Regions from separate parts of the Homo sapiens genome. Here all the other regions are linked to region 3. The links are contacts of gene promoters, found by promoter capture Hi-C in human tissues and cell types (Jung and others, 2019). All regions are on one chromosome and are shown on one strand. The core of a region is centred on a gene start or on the middle of the fragment in contact, and the rest is flanking DNA. Distances in the headings are between cores, read along the strand shown. Region 1 has its middle 67 kb from the start of LINC01685. Region 2 overlaps LOC105378657 (a long non-coding RNA gene). Region 3 holds the start of POU3F1 (POU class 3 homeobox 1). Region 4 overlaps LOC105378657 (a long non-coding RNA gene).

Region 1 (2,700 bases), core at 64-2,563, 500 kb before region 3:
GAAATGTTAATTTCACCTAGAAACACACACACACACACACACACACACACACACACACACACACACACCCAGAATAATGTTTGACCAAAGGTCTAGGCATCCTGCAGGCCAGTCAAGTTGACACATAAAATTCACCATCACACTAGGTAATCAGTAAAATATCACCTAATTATGTATTAGTTTATTCTCATGCTCCTATAAAGAACTGCCAGATACTGGGTAATTTATAAAGGAAAGAGGTTTAATTGACTCACAGTTCTGCAGGGCTGGGAGGCCTTAGGAAACTTACAATCATGGTGGATGGGGAAGCAAATACGTCCTTCTTCACACGTTGGCAGGAAGGAAAGTGCTGAGAAAAAGGGGGAAAAGCCCTTATAAAACCATCAGATCTTGTGAGAACTCACTATCACAAGAAAAGCAGCACAGGGTAACAACTTCCATGACTGAATTACCTCCCACTGGGTCCCTCCTACAATATGTGGGGATTACGGAAACTACAATTCAAGATGAGATTTGAGTGGAGACACAGCCAAACCATATCAAATTAATTAACTAGCTAATTCATTAATGAGCAAAGCAATATTGCTGCAGGTTTGCTTGTCACCATAGGTGCAGTATCCTGTTGATGGTCCTGAAATTGTCCTTGGCCACCCTCATACCCATGCGTAAGTTGTCCTGATGAAGTGGGGAGAATATTTTCCTTCCACAGGCACATGGCACAAGTCCACGTGCAGGCAGCTGCACTTTGTGATGAGCCCTAAGAAGGCTGCCCCGAACTCCCATGTCTCACTGATATCCTCTCTGCAAACCACATTATAGCTTCTTTCTACTGCTCACATCTCTAGGACTCAGACCTGCATGGATGAGGGCTGGCTGGGTACACATCTGCAAGCCTGGTCCAGAAAACATGGTCCTCCATAACCCCCTCCACTCAGGGTGCACATGCCCTCACCCACCCCAACCCATCCCCTTGTTAATCCACCCTCCTCCAGGTTGCTACCAGGAGCCCCTTCAACTTTAGACTTGGGCTAAGCCCTGAGCTTTCCACAGATATGCATGGAACACAGGGAACCCCTGCCAGCAGGGCCTTCAGCAGCCAGTTTATTTTGCTCGATACTCACGGTCTGCATTTGCTTCAGTGCACCCCAGAGGTGTTTATTGGCTCATTGTCACACCTCATGTGGGCAGAGCTATGGCCCTCACTGAGTGCTTTGTTCTCATCACCTTTGGTGGTCACTGCCAAGAAATGAGCAGTCTCTGCTCATCTGTGCTGGACAAAGGCCAGGCTATTCCCAACGATTGGCTTGGTAACTCTCATTGGAAACAGGAGCATCAGGCACATGATGTTGCTCCCCAGACTCCAGAAATGGGAAGGGGATGTTCCTCTGAAGGGCACTTCTGGCTCGTGGCAGAATTCATAGAATCTCCATTCCAAATAATTGGAGATTCTTTAGTCCTTCTTGCACCTCAAGGCTTGAATCTACTTCACCATATCTTCACTGAGTGCTGAGTCTTGGAACCCCTGCTTACACGGATCTGTAGGAGTAGGGGTGCTTGCTACCATCTGCACACAACCTATTGCTAAACAGCTCTGGCAATAAAAGTAACAGTAACACTCTGATAATAATAATTATTACAAAGACCATTTATAAGGCACTTCCATATGTTCAGTTCTCAGCACCTTACCTGGCTTGTCTCAGTCAATGCTCCCAAGAACTCTCTGAGGCAGGTGTGCTATTATTCCTGTTCCTCAGACAAGGAAGCTGATGCTTCCAGAGGGGCTAAGGAACAGCTAAGTGGAGATCCAAATCTAAGTTGTCTAACTCCAAAGCTTGTGCTCCTAAGCGCCTTATTTGAGTTCTGCCTCTGAATTCCCATTCTCACTCTCACTCTCCCTTCCACTTCTTGACTCTAGGTTTGCGCTTTTAGGCCTCACGGTCCAAGTCTTCTCACTCTTTCCTGTGACAGCCCTTCAGAGTTTTGGAAACAGCAATCATGTCCCTCAACTGTGTGCTTTTCCATCCATAAGAGCCCCAGTTCAGATCCTTCTTTCTTCTTCCTTTGACACAGCTTCCAACCCTCTTCCACCAAACTTGCAGCCCGTCTCAGGGGCTGTAGCTGGTTGTGCCGTCCTTGAAGTATAGAGTCCCAAAATGAGCCTAGGCTCCAGTGACAGATGAGAGCAGGACCCTCACATCCCTGTTTAAGACACCAGGAAACATGTGTCAATATAGCCCAGGAGCATCTGAGAACCCCCACCTAGAATGCTGACTCATTCTCAGCTCCATGACCGTGAAAAATCTCTGCTGAGAATTTTCCCATTGGCTGTAGCTGCTAAGTCTCTCCTTCCCTGTCTTGTTCTTGAACAGTTTTTCTTTTTGAACCTGAGAGCTGGACCTGACAATCGTGTCTATTAAGAATCTTAAGCAATGACAGTCCCAGTATGGATTACACTCACAAATCAGAGCAAAGCTGTCCCAGACATCCTGTGTGGAAGTGATGGGGAGTTTTACCTTGGCCTTGGTTTGCAAAATCATCAGCTCTGTCAATCTCAAAAATCAGAAATGCAAAAGAAAAAGATGGACTTGGAAGTGGAAGAACTGGCATCTAGTCCCAGGTTTGAACCTGTTAAATTAGCTGGGTGACCTTTGGAAATATGCTTCACCTCGCATTAGCACATAGCATCATAAACAGCTTAAG
Region 2 (2,700 bases), core at 155-2,654, 390 kb before region 3:
GATAATTTTGGACAATTCCAGAGAGGGAGGCTCAGAGGCAGGTGCTCCCCTGTGGTGCAACCCATGCATGCATCAAGCTGGGCCAGGGCCTTGGCCACTGCTGGTCATCCCTGAGGGCCATTTTAATACATAACTGTAGGGTCCAATGAATGATTGTTTAGGAGAGGGGGAGGGAAACTGTAAACAATAAATCTTTTAGTCCACTCCCCTGATTTGTCTTAAGCCCTCCTTCCTAAAATCTTGCATTACAGAAGAAAGCATTTACTTTTCTTTGCCTTTCAGTTCAATTTTAATTTGACATTTTTTTTTTTTCACTGAGCTCCTTGCTGTAGGCAACTGTTGTAGGGGTCGGGGATCCGGAGAGGGGTGAGACACAGTTTCTGCCTCCATGGAATTCTCAGCATGTCAGGACAGTTGGAGGACAGAGGGAGAATTCTTGGGCTGGCCCAGAGTATGAGCAAGTAGGACTGCCCTGGCAGAAAAGGAAGAACCCAGACAGGTGAAGAGCCCTCATTAGGCAGTGCAGGGGCTGGGCAAATCCCAAGGAGGCTGGAACCCTAAGGGAAGGTTATCTGAGCCAGTAGGCGGGAGGGGGACAAAAGACAGTTCTGAGAATAAGAAGCAGGCAACCAGAAATGGGTCAAGTGAGGCTCAGAGGTGGAGATAAAGCAAAGCTCTAAAAGTAACCCACAACTGGTTAGATCAAAAAGCACTTGGCCGGGCGCGGTGGCTCACGCCTGTAATCCCAGCACTTTGGGAGTCCGAGGTGGGTGGATCACGAGGTCGGGAGTTCATGGCTAGCCTGACCAACATAGTGAAACCCCATCTCTAGTAAAAACACAAAAATTAGCCGGGCGTGTTGGTGGGCGCCTGTAGTCCCAGCTACTCGCGAGGCTGAGTCAGGAGAATCACTTGAACCCGGGAGGCAGAGGTTGCAGTGAACCAAGATCGCTCCATTGCACTCCAGCCTGGGCAAAAAGAGCACAACTCCGTCTCAAAAAAAAAAAAAAAAAAGCACTCAGCATCCAAGGAGCAAGAGGAAATGGGCAACTCCTGCTGCCTGTGGTCCCTGTAACCTCATGAAGTGTTTCCATTCCAGATAGTAAGGGCCCCAAGCATGACTTCTGTCCCAGTGGTGCAGGGAGACAGATAGTAACTAGCCAGGATGAAAGCGCTGTGTATGCAGGAAGCTCAGGGTACTGTCCGAGTTATTGAAGCAAGGGTCAGGTCAGGCCTCGTGGAAGTGATGACATTTGATGGAAGCCTGCAGGAAGGGTCAGGGCCCCGGACTTGGCACATCCCCTGGAGAAACCACCCTCCCCAGCACCGGATGCTTGAATGACTGGCAGTTCTGCTTTCACTCCTTCCCTGAAATCCCATCTTCACCAACTGTTCTGGGGCTGGAACATTGAGATTCTGAGAGGCAGCGGGTCTATTGGAATGCACAAGAGGCAGCCTGCCTGCCATCTCCTCTTCTTTTCTTGGGCTGTGTTCCCAGAGAAGGCGAGAACCTTCTTCTTCATGTCTCCTGGGTGGAACATTTAAATTCTCCCGGGAAACCCCACTAATTCAAAACCCACTGATTCAGAATTTGTGATCATTTGAATGGGGACTTGGATGAACTTTCTCCTTGAACTATATATGTGATGGAAGGAGTTTTCTAATCACATAAATAGAGGAAGATTTTAAGAGTAATGATGGATTTAAAAGCTACTTTTCAAAGGTTTTAGGAGAAATCGGAAGCATAGAAGAGATCTGGGCTCATTCAGCTCAATCACAGGTAGGTTTGGTTTCCAGCCTCTGCTTGCATGAGTTCTCCTGTAATGGGGAACTCACCAGCTCCTGAAACAGCAAATTTCATCTGTGGCAGATCAATTAGCATTTTTTTTTCCTTAACAAAGATCTCTCTGTGTGGTGCCTAATTATCGGTCATATTCCTGGCCTTGGATCTGCACAGAGACTTTGTGTCATAAGGCTGCCCATTAGAGACTTGAAGATGGATGCTCCAGGTCTTTTTTGTTTTGTTTTGTTTGTTTGTTTGTTTTTTGTTTCTTTTTGAGACGGAGTCTTGCTTTGTCGCCCAGGCTGGCATGCAGTGGCACGATCTCAGCTCACTGCAACCTCCACCTCCTGGGTTCAAGCGATTCTCCTGCCTCAGTCTCCCAAGTAGCTGGGATTACAAGAATGTGCCAACATGCCTGGCTAATTTTTGTATTTTTAGTAGAGATGGGATTTCACCATGTTGGCCAGGCTGGTCTCGAGCTCCTGACCTCAAGTGATCCACCTGCCTTGGCCACCCAAAGTGCTGGGATTATAGGCATGAGCCACCCTGCCTAGCCAAGGTCTTCTCTTTTCTGGTTATGCATGCAGGAATGGGTTTTGAGGCCTCATGTCCCAGGGAGAGATTATGGATTTTCTGGGCAATAAATTGTAGCAGGCTTGCCTCCTGGGGATGGAGTGCACTGCTCCTGCAAAGTCCTGGTCAGGGAAGGGTTGGGGGCCTGGGGGGTCTGAGTCAGGTGTGCCCTGAAAGCAGGCCCATGGTGGGAGGTTTTAACCAACTGAGGTGGGTAGGCGGGCACAGGCTGTGGAGCAGAGTGCCTTGCAGGTACTGCAGGGAACGGCAGCTGTATTTACTGAGCACTTTTCTTCCCTCCCACCCTCTATCTTCCCTAGATCCTCACTGTTTCCTTTCTTCAT
Region 3 (2,700 bases), core at 198-2,697:
ACTCCCTGGGACCCAAGCCTCGGTGTGGGGAAGAGGAGAAAACACAGCTCAGTACCCTCAGCCTGGGGCCCAAGGTCGGGTAAGAAGGCACAAAGGAACTGCAGTGAGGTCCGACTCCACTCAAGATCCTTCAGGGAGTCCTCAAGGGCTGGGGCGTGAGGAGGTAGCTAAATTCCACTGCCCACCTTTCCAACAAGGCCTCCTCAATCTCAATTCCCTTTTCAGCAGCTCCAGGCAAGTCCGGGCAAACTCTAGCCCAGGGCTCTTAGCGAGGCTGGACAGCTCCCGGCCTGCACGCCGGATTTCTGGAGAGCCCGAGCCCCTTCCCTGAGCCCATCCTTCTCCTCTCCCGGGGCGTGATCCCACCACGACCACAGCCGATGAGCCGTTCAAGCTGGGAGAAGGAGCGAGAAGGCTGCAGCGGCGCAGGTCAGATACCCCTGGGCCCAACGTCCACCCCCAACTAGCGCCCTTGCCAGCAGCGTTTTCCCCGGAGCCACAGTCTCCACCTCGAGATCTTCTCCTTCTGGAACCCCGGAGCGCGGCCGGGTACCAGGGGCTCGCGTAGGACTGTAGAACCGCTGCCGCCCGCCGTCCCAGCCCCAGCTGCCCGCGCGGTACTCACCTGGGCCTCAGTGCCCGGGAGAAGGTGTGCCCGCGCGAGGCGTGAAGCCAGAGTCCGTCCGACTCCGCCCGCACCGGACGCGCTCTCAGGGCAGAGGAGGTCGGCGGAGTTGTGACGCTGGGACTAGAGGAAGGAGAAGGAAAGCCGAGACGGGCCGGGCAGACGCGCCGAGGAGCGCCCAGTGCACGCTGGCAGCCGCGGGAGGCGAGGCGGGCGCGGTGAGCAGTCGCGCCGGAACCGAGCCGCGAATCCGCGCCGCCTCGCGCTCGCAGCCGCCAGGACCCGCGGGAATCCTGGTCCGCCGGCAGCGGTACTGAGGAGGGAGGGGCGCGGGGCTGAGCCGCTTCTCGGAGCCCGAGCGCCTCCCGGAGCCGGCAATCCCTGCTGCCCGGGCGGGATGCGGGCGGGAATTCAGCTCGCGTGGAATGTGGGACCGGCCGGGCTCGGAGTCTCCAGCGCTGGGGGAAAGCGGGGCCCACACAGCCAGGACGAGAGGGGGTGCGGTCCCAGGGCCACCCCCGCGCCACTCCCCACGTGGCGGCCGCGCCCCCGGGGCGTGAGTGTGTACGCGGACGGTAGGGGGGCCGTGAATGAAGCCCCAGCGGCCAATCAGCACGGCCGGCGCGCGGGACCCCGGGAGCGACGCCCAATGGAGAGCTCTGGGCGGCCGGGCAGGGTGGCGGGCGGGCGCGCGGGGCGGGGGCCGGGCAGGGGAGGCGGGAGGCAGCTCCGCGGGCAGCCAATGGGCGGCGGGCGGGGTGGGGCTCCGGAGCGCCGAGCGGGTCGGGGCTTTAAGCCGGCGGAGCGAGGCGGCGGGGCCCGCAGACGGAGCGGAGCGGCGGCGGCGGCGCGGCGCAGGGCGCGGGGCGGCATGGCCACCACCGCGCAGTACCTGCCGCGGGGCCCCGGTGGCGGAGCCGGGGGCACCGGGCCGCTTATGCACCCGGACGCCGCGGCGGCGGCGGCGGCGGCGGCGGCCGCGGAGCGATTGCATGCAGGGGCCGCGTACCGCGAAGTGCAGAAGCTGATGCACCACGAGTGGCTGGGCGCGGGCGCGGGCCACCCCGTGGGCCTAGCGCACCCCCAGTGGCTACCCACGGGAGGAGGCGGCGGCGGCGATTGGGCCGGCGGCCCGCACCTAGAACACGGCAAGGCAGGCGGCGGCGGCACCGGCCGAGCCGACGACGGCGGCGGCGGCGGAGGTTTCCACGCGCGCCTGGTGCACCAGGGGGCGGCCCACGCGGGCGCGGCATGGGCGCAGGGCAGCACAGCGCACCACTTGGGCCCGGCCATGTCGCCCTCGCCCGGGGCCAGCGGGGGCCACCAGCCCCAGCCGCTCGGGCTGTACGCGCAGGCGGCCTACCCGGGGGGCGGCGGCGGCGGCCTGGCCGGGATGCTGGCGGCGGGCGGTGGCGGCGCGGGGCCGGGCCTGCACCACGCGCTGCACGAGGATGGCCACGAGGCGCAGCTGGAGCCGTCGCCGCCGCCGCATCTGGGCGCCCACGGACACGCACACGGACATGCACACGCGGGCGGCCTGCACGCGGCGGCGGCGCACCTGCACCCGGGCGCGGGCGGCGGCGGCTCATCGGTGGGCGAGCACTCGGACGAGGATGCGCCCAGCTCGGACGACCTGGAGCAGTTCGCCAAGCAGTTCAAGCAGCGGCGCATCAAGCTGGGCTTTACGCAGGCCGACGTGGGGCTGGCGCTGGGCACGCTCTACGGTAACGTGTTCTCGCAGACCACCATCTGCCGCTTCGAGGCCCTGCAGCTGAGCTTCAAGAACATGTGCAAGCTCAAGCCGCTGCTCAACAAGTGGCTGGAGGAGACCGACTCGTCCAGCGGCAGCCCCACCAACCTGGACAAGATCGCGGCGCAGGGCCGCAAGCGCAAGAAGCGCACGTCCATCGAGGTGGGGGTCAAAGGCGCGCTCGAGAGCCACTTTCTCAAGTGCCCCAAGCCCTCGGCGCACGAGATCACCGGCTTGGCAGACAGCCTGCAGCTGGAGAAGGAGGTGGTGCGCGTCTGGTTCTGCAACCGGCGGCAGAAGGAGAAGCGCATGACCCCTGCGGCCG
Region 4 (2,746 bases), core at 118-2,617, 350 kb before region 3:
CTAACTTTCAGTGATAGTTTACTACTTCATGTGTAGTATAAGCCCTGTTCATGTATACTCTAGTTTTTCCCTACTGGCCTTTGGGCATTGTTATCATACATTTCACTTCTACATATTTTATATATCTCATAATATGTTGCTATTATGCCTTAAACAGATGATTATTTTTGAAGATATTTAAATAATAAATGAAATTATTATTATTATCATTATCATTATTACAAATCTACTTATGTAATACCATGTCCTGTGCTGCTCAATACTTTGTGGAGATCAAGGGTCAGAAAACTTTTTCTGTTGGGGCCAGGTAATAAATACTCTAGACCATGTGGTTTCTGTTACAATTATTCAATCCTGTCATTGTAGCATGAAAGCATCCATGGGCAACAAATAAATGAATAGGTATGGCTGTGTTCCAATAAAACTTTATTCACAAAAAGAGGCAGCAGGTCAGATTTGGCTCATGGGCCATAATTTGCTGACCCCTAATATATCTAGGTTTCCATCTGATATTATCCTTTTTTTCCCCCTGCTTGAAGGACTTCCCTTTACATTTTCTATTCCACCAGTCTGCTTGTGATTAACTCTTTCAGCTTCTGTATGTCTAAAGAAGTATTTATTTTGCCTTAACTTTTAAAATAATTTTTTCTTAGTAGAGAGTTCCAGGTTGACATTTTCTTTTCTTACAGAATTTTAAAGATTTTGAGCCACTGTCTTCTAGTTTGCATTGTTTCTGACAAGAAATCTGCTATCCTCCTTATCTTCATTGCCCTGCATGTAGAGCATCTCCTCTACTTTTCCAATTTTATCTTTGTCACTGATTTAAAGCTACTTGATTCTGATATGCGTTTGTGTATTTTTTTTTTTAATTTCCTGGTTTTGGTGTTCACTGACCTTCTTGAATCTGTGAACTTATAATTTTTATCGAATTTGAAACATTTGGTCACTATTTCCTTAAATACTTTTCTGTCCTCCCTTTCTTTTGGGAACCCCACTTACACATAGATTTGGCCACTTGAAGTTGTCACTGTTGCTCTGTGTGTTTTTTTTTTTATGTGTGTCTTTTCCTCTGTGTACTTTATTTTGGGTAGTTTCTATTGCTATGTCTTCAAGTTTACTACTCCTTTCCTCTGAAATGTCTAATCTGCTATTTCCCATTCATTGTATTTTTTTTTTTTATCTCAGACATGGTTGTTTTCTTCTCTAGAAGTTTGGTTTCAGTTTTTCTAATATCTTCCATGTCTCTACTTAATGTTCAATATTTTCTCTAGCTTGGTGAACATATAGAATACAGTTATAATGACTGTTTTAATATGCTTGTCTCTTAATTCTATCATTTGTGTCATTTCTGAGTCAGTTTTGATTGATTTTTCTCCTCATTATAGGTTTTATTTTTCTAGTTCTTTGAATGCCTGATAATTTTTTTTATGGATGCCATATATTTTGAATTTTACCTTGTTGGGTGCTGAATATTTTTGTATTCCTAAAATTATTCTTGAGGTTTATTTGGAGATACACATTACTTTCAAATAGCTTAATACTTTTGGTTCTTGCTTTAAGCTCAATTATCAGGGACCAGCAGCATTTAGTCTAGGGTTAATTTTTCCCACTACTGAGGGAAGACCCTGCTCAGTACTCTAACTGATGTCCTATGACTTATGAAGTATTCTACTCTGGCTATTGGGAATAGACCCTTCCTATTCTTGTGAGCGTAGCACTGTTTCCTCTAATCTTTTGAGTTATTTTTTTAGACTAGTTGTTCATATGCATGTGCTGATGATTATTCTATTGAATACTCAAGGGAAGCTTCTGTAGATTTCTGAAGTTTTCCCTGTGTGCAGCTCTTCTTTTAAATACACTACATTGGGAACTCTAGATTCTTTGTTTTTCTCAACTTCCATTTGTGCCTCCTCAACTCAGGGATATTGCCAGCCTCTGCCATGGATCTGCCTTCCTTGTGATGGTCTGCAAACTTCCTTCAGGAGGTAAACCAGGTCAATAATAGGGCTATATTTGTTTCCTGTCATTTAGGGATTGCTGTCCTTCATTACCTGGTGCCTAATATTTTCACAGCTATTTTTTCATATATTTTGTTCAGCTTAAAAAGAAATTGTTTCAGATTGGAGGTTAAATTCAGCCCCTGCTACCCCATACTGGCTAGAAGTAGAAGTCCTATCAATTCATGTTTTAAATAATTAAGAAAAGAAGGAAAAATTTCTTTTGTATTTTCCTACAAAGTTATCATTTCTAGTGCCCTTTATTCCTTTCTGTAGAGCTGAATTTCCATATGGTCTCATTTCTCTTTAGCATAGAGAATTTCCTTTAGCATTTCTTCTTTTAGAAATATTTATTTTTTAATATTGACAAATTTAAATTATATATATTTATGGTATATAACATGATGTTTTGACATATGTTTACAATGTGGAATGGTTAAATCAAGCTAATTAACGTGTCTTACTTTCATACTTATCCATTTTTTGTGGTGAGAACACTTAAAATCTACTGCCTTCGCAATTTTCAGTTATACAATAACTGTCGTTAAATATAGTCACCATGATATACAATAGATCTTTTGAACTTATTTCTCCTATCTGTATCCTTTGACCAACATTTTCCAATTCCTCCCTCCTCCTGTGCCCAACTCCTGGTAACCACCATTTTCATCTCTGCTTTGATGAGTTTGTCTTTTTTAGATCCCACATATAAGTGAGATCATGTGGTATTTGTCTTTCTGTGCATGGCT

Evidence for each region. The method cuts DNA at HindIII sites, captures the fragments that hold promoters and counts their contacts. A contact is called where the count stands out against the background at its distance.
Region 1: a fragment that was not itself captured here is called in contact with the fragment with the promoter of POU3F1 in region 3 in 1 of the 25 tissues and cell types used here (dorsolateral prefrontal cortex).
Region 2: a fragment that was not itself captured here is called in contact with the fragment with the promoter of POU3F1 in region 3 in 2 of the 25 tissues and cell types used here (dorsolateral prefrontal cortex and mesendoderm cells).
Region 4: a contact is called between a fragment that was not itself captured here and the fragment with the promoter of POU3F1 in region 3, in 1 of the 25 tissues and cell types used here (lymphoblastoid cells).

Annotation. Positions count from the first base shown.
Region 1 is chr1:38,541,020-38,543,719 of GRCh38, reverse strand. No RefSeq gene overlaps it. Among named protein-coding and RNA genes, the nearest start is that of LINC01685, 67 kb to the right of the region's middle. The HindIII fragment of the contact is 3,741 bases long and covers 1-2,700 here.
Region 2 is chr1:38,431,950-38,434,649 of GRCh38, reverse strand. All of the region lies in intron 2 of LOC105378657 (a long non-coding RNA gene), which reads left to right. All of the region lies in intron 2 of LOC107984943 (a long non-coding RNA gene), which reads left to right. Among named protein-coding and RNA genes, the nearest start is that of LINC01685, 42 kb to the left of the region's middle. The HindIII fragment of the contact is 5,970 bases long and covers 1-2,700 here.
Region 3 is chr1:38,045,540-38,048,239 of GRCh38, reverse strand. It overlaps POU3F1 (POU class 3 homeobox 1), which reads left to right and starts at 1,447. Exons shown (of 1, transcript NM_002699.4): 1 at 1,447-2,700. The coding sequence starts at 1,497. MIR3659HG (MIR3659 host gene) reads right to left here and starts at 1,106. Exons shown (of 5, transcript NR_168386.1): 1 at 626-1,106. RefSeq lists enhancers at 143-643, 644-1,144 and a silencer at 1,057-1,386. The HindIII fragment of the contact is 7,503 bases long and covers 1-2,700 here.
Region 4 is chr1:38,399,409-38,402,154 of GRCh38, reverse strand. All of the region lies in intron 2 of LOC105378657 (a long non-coding RNA gene), which reads left to right. Among named protein-coding and RNA genes, the nearest start is that of LINC01685, 74 kb to the left of the region's middle. The HindIII fragment of the contact is 3,935 bases long and covers 1-2,746 here.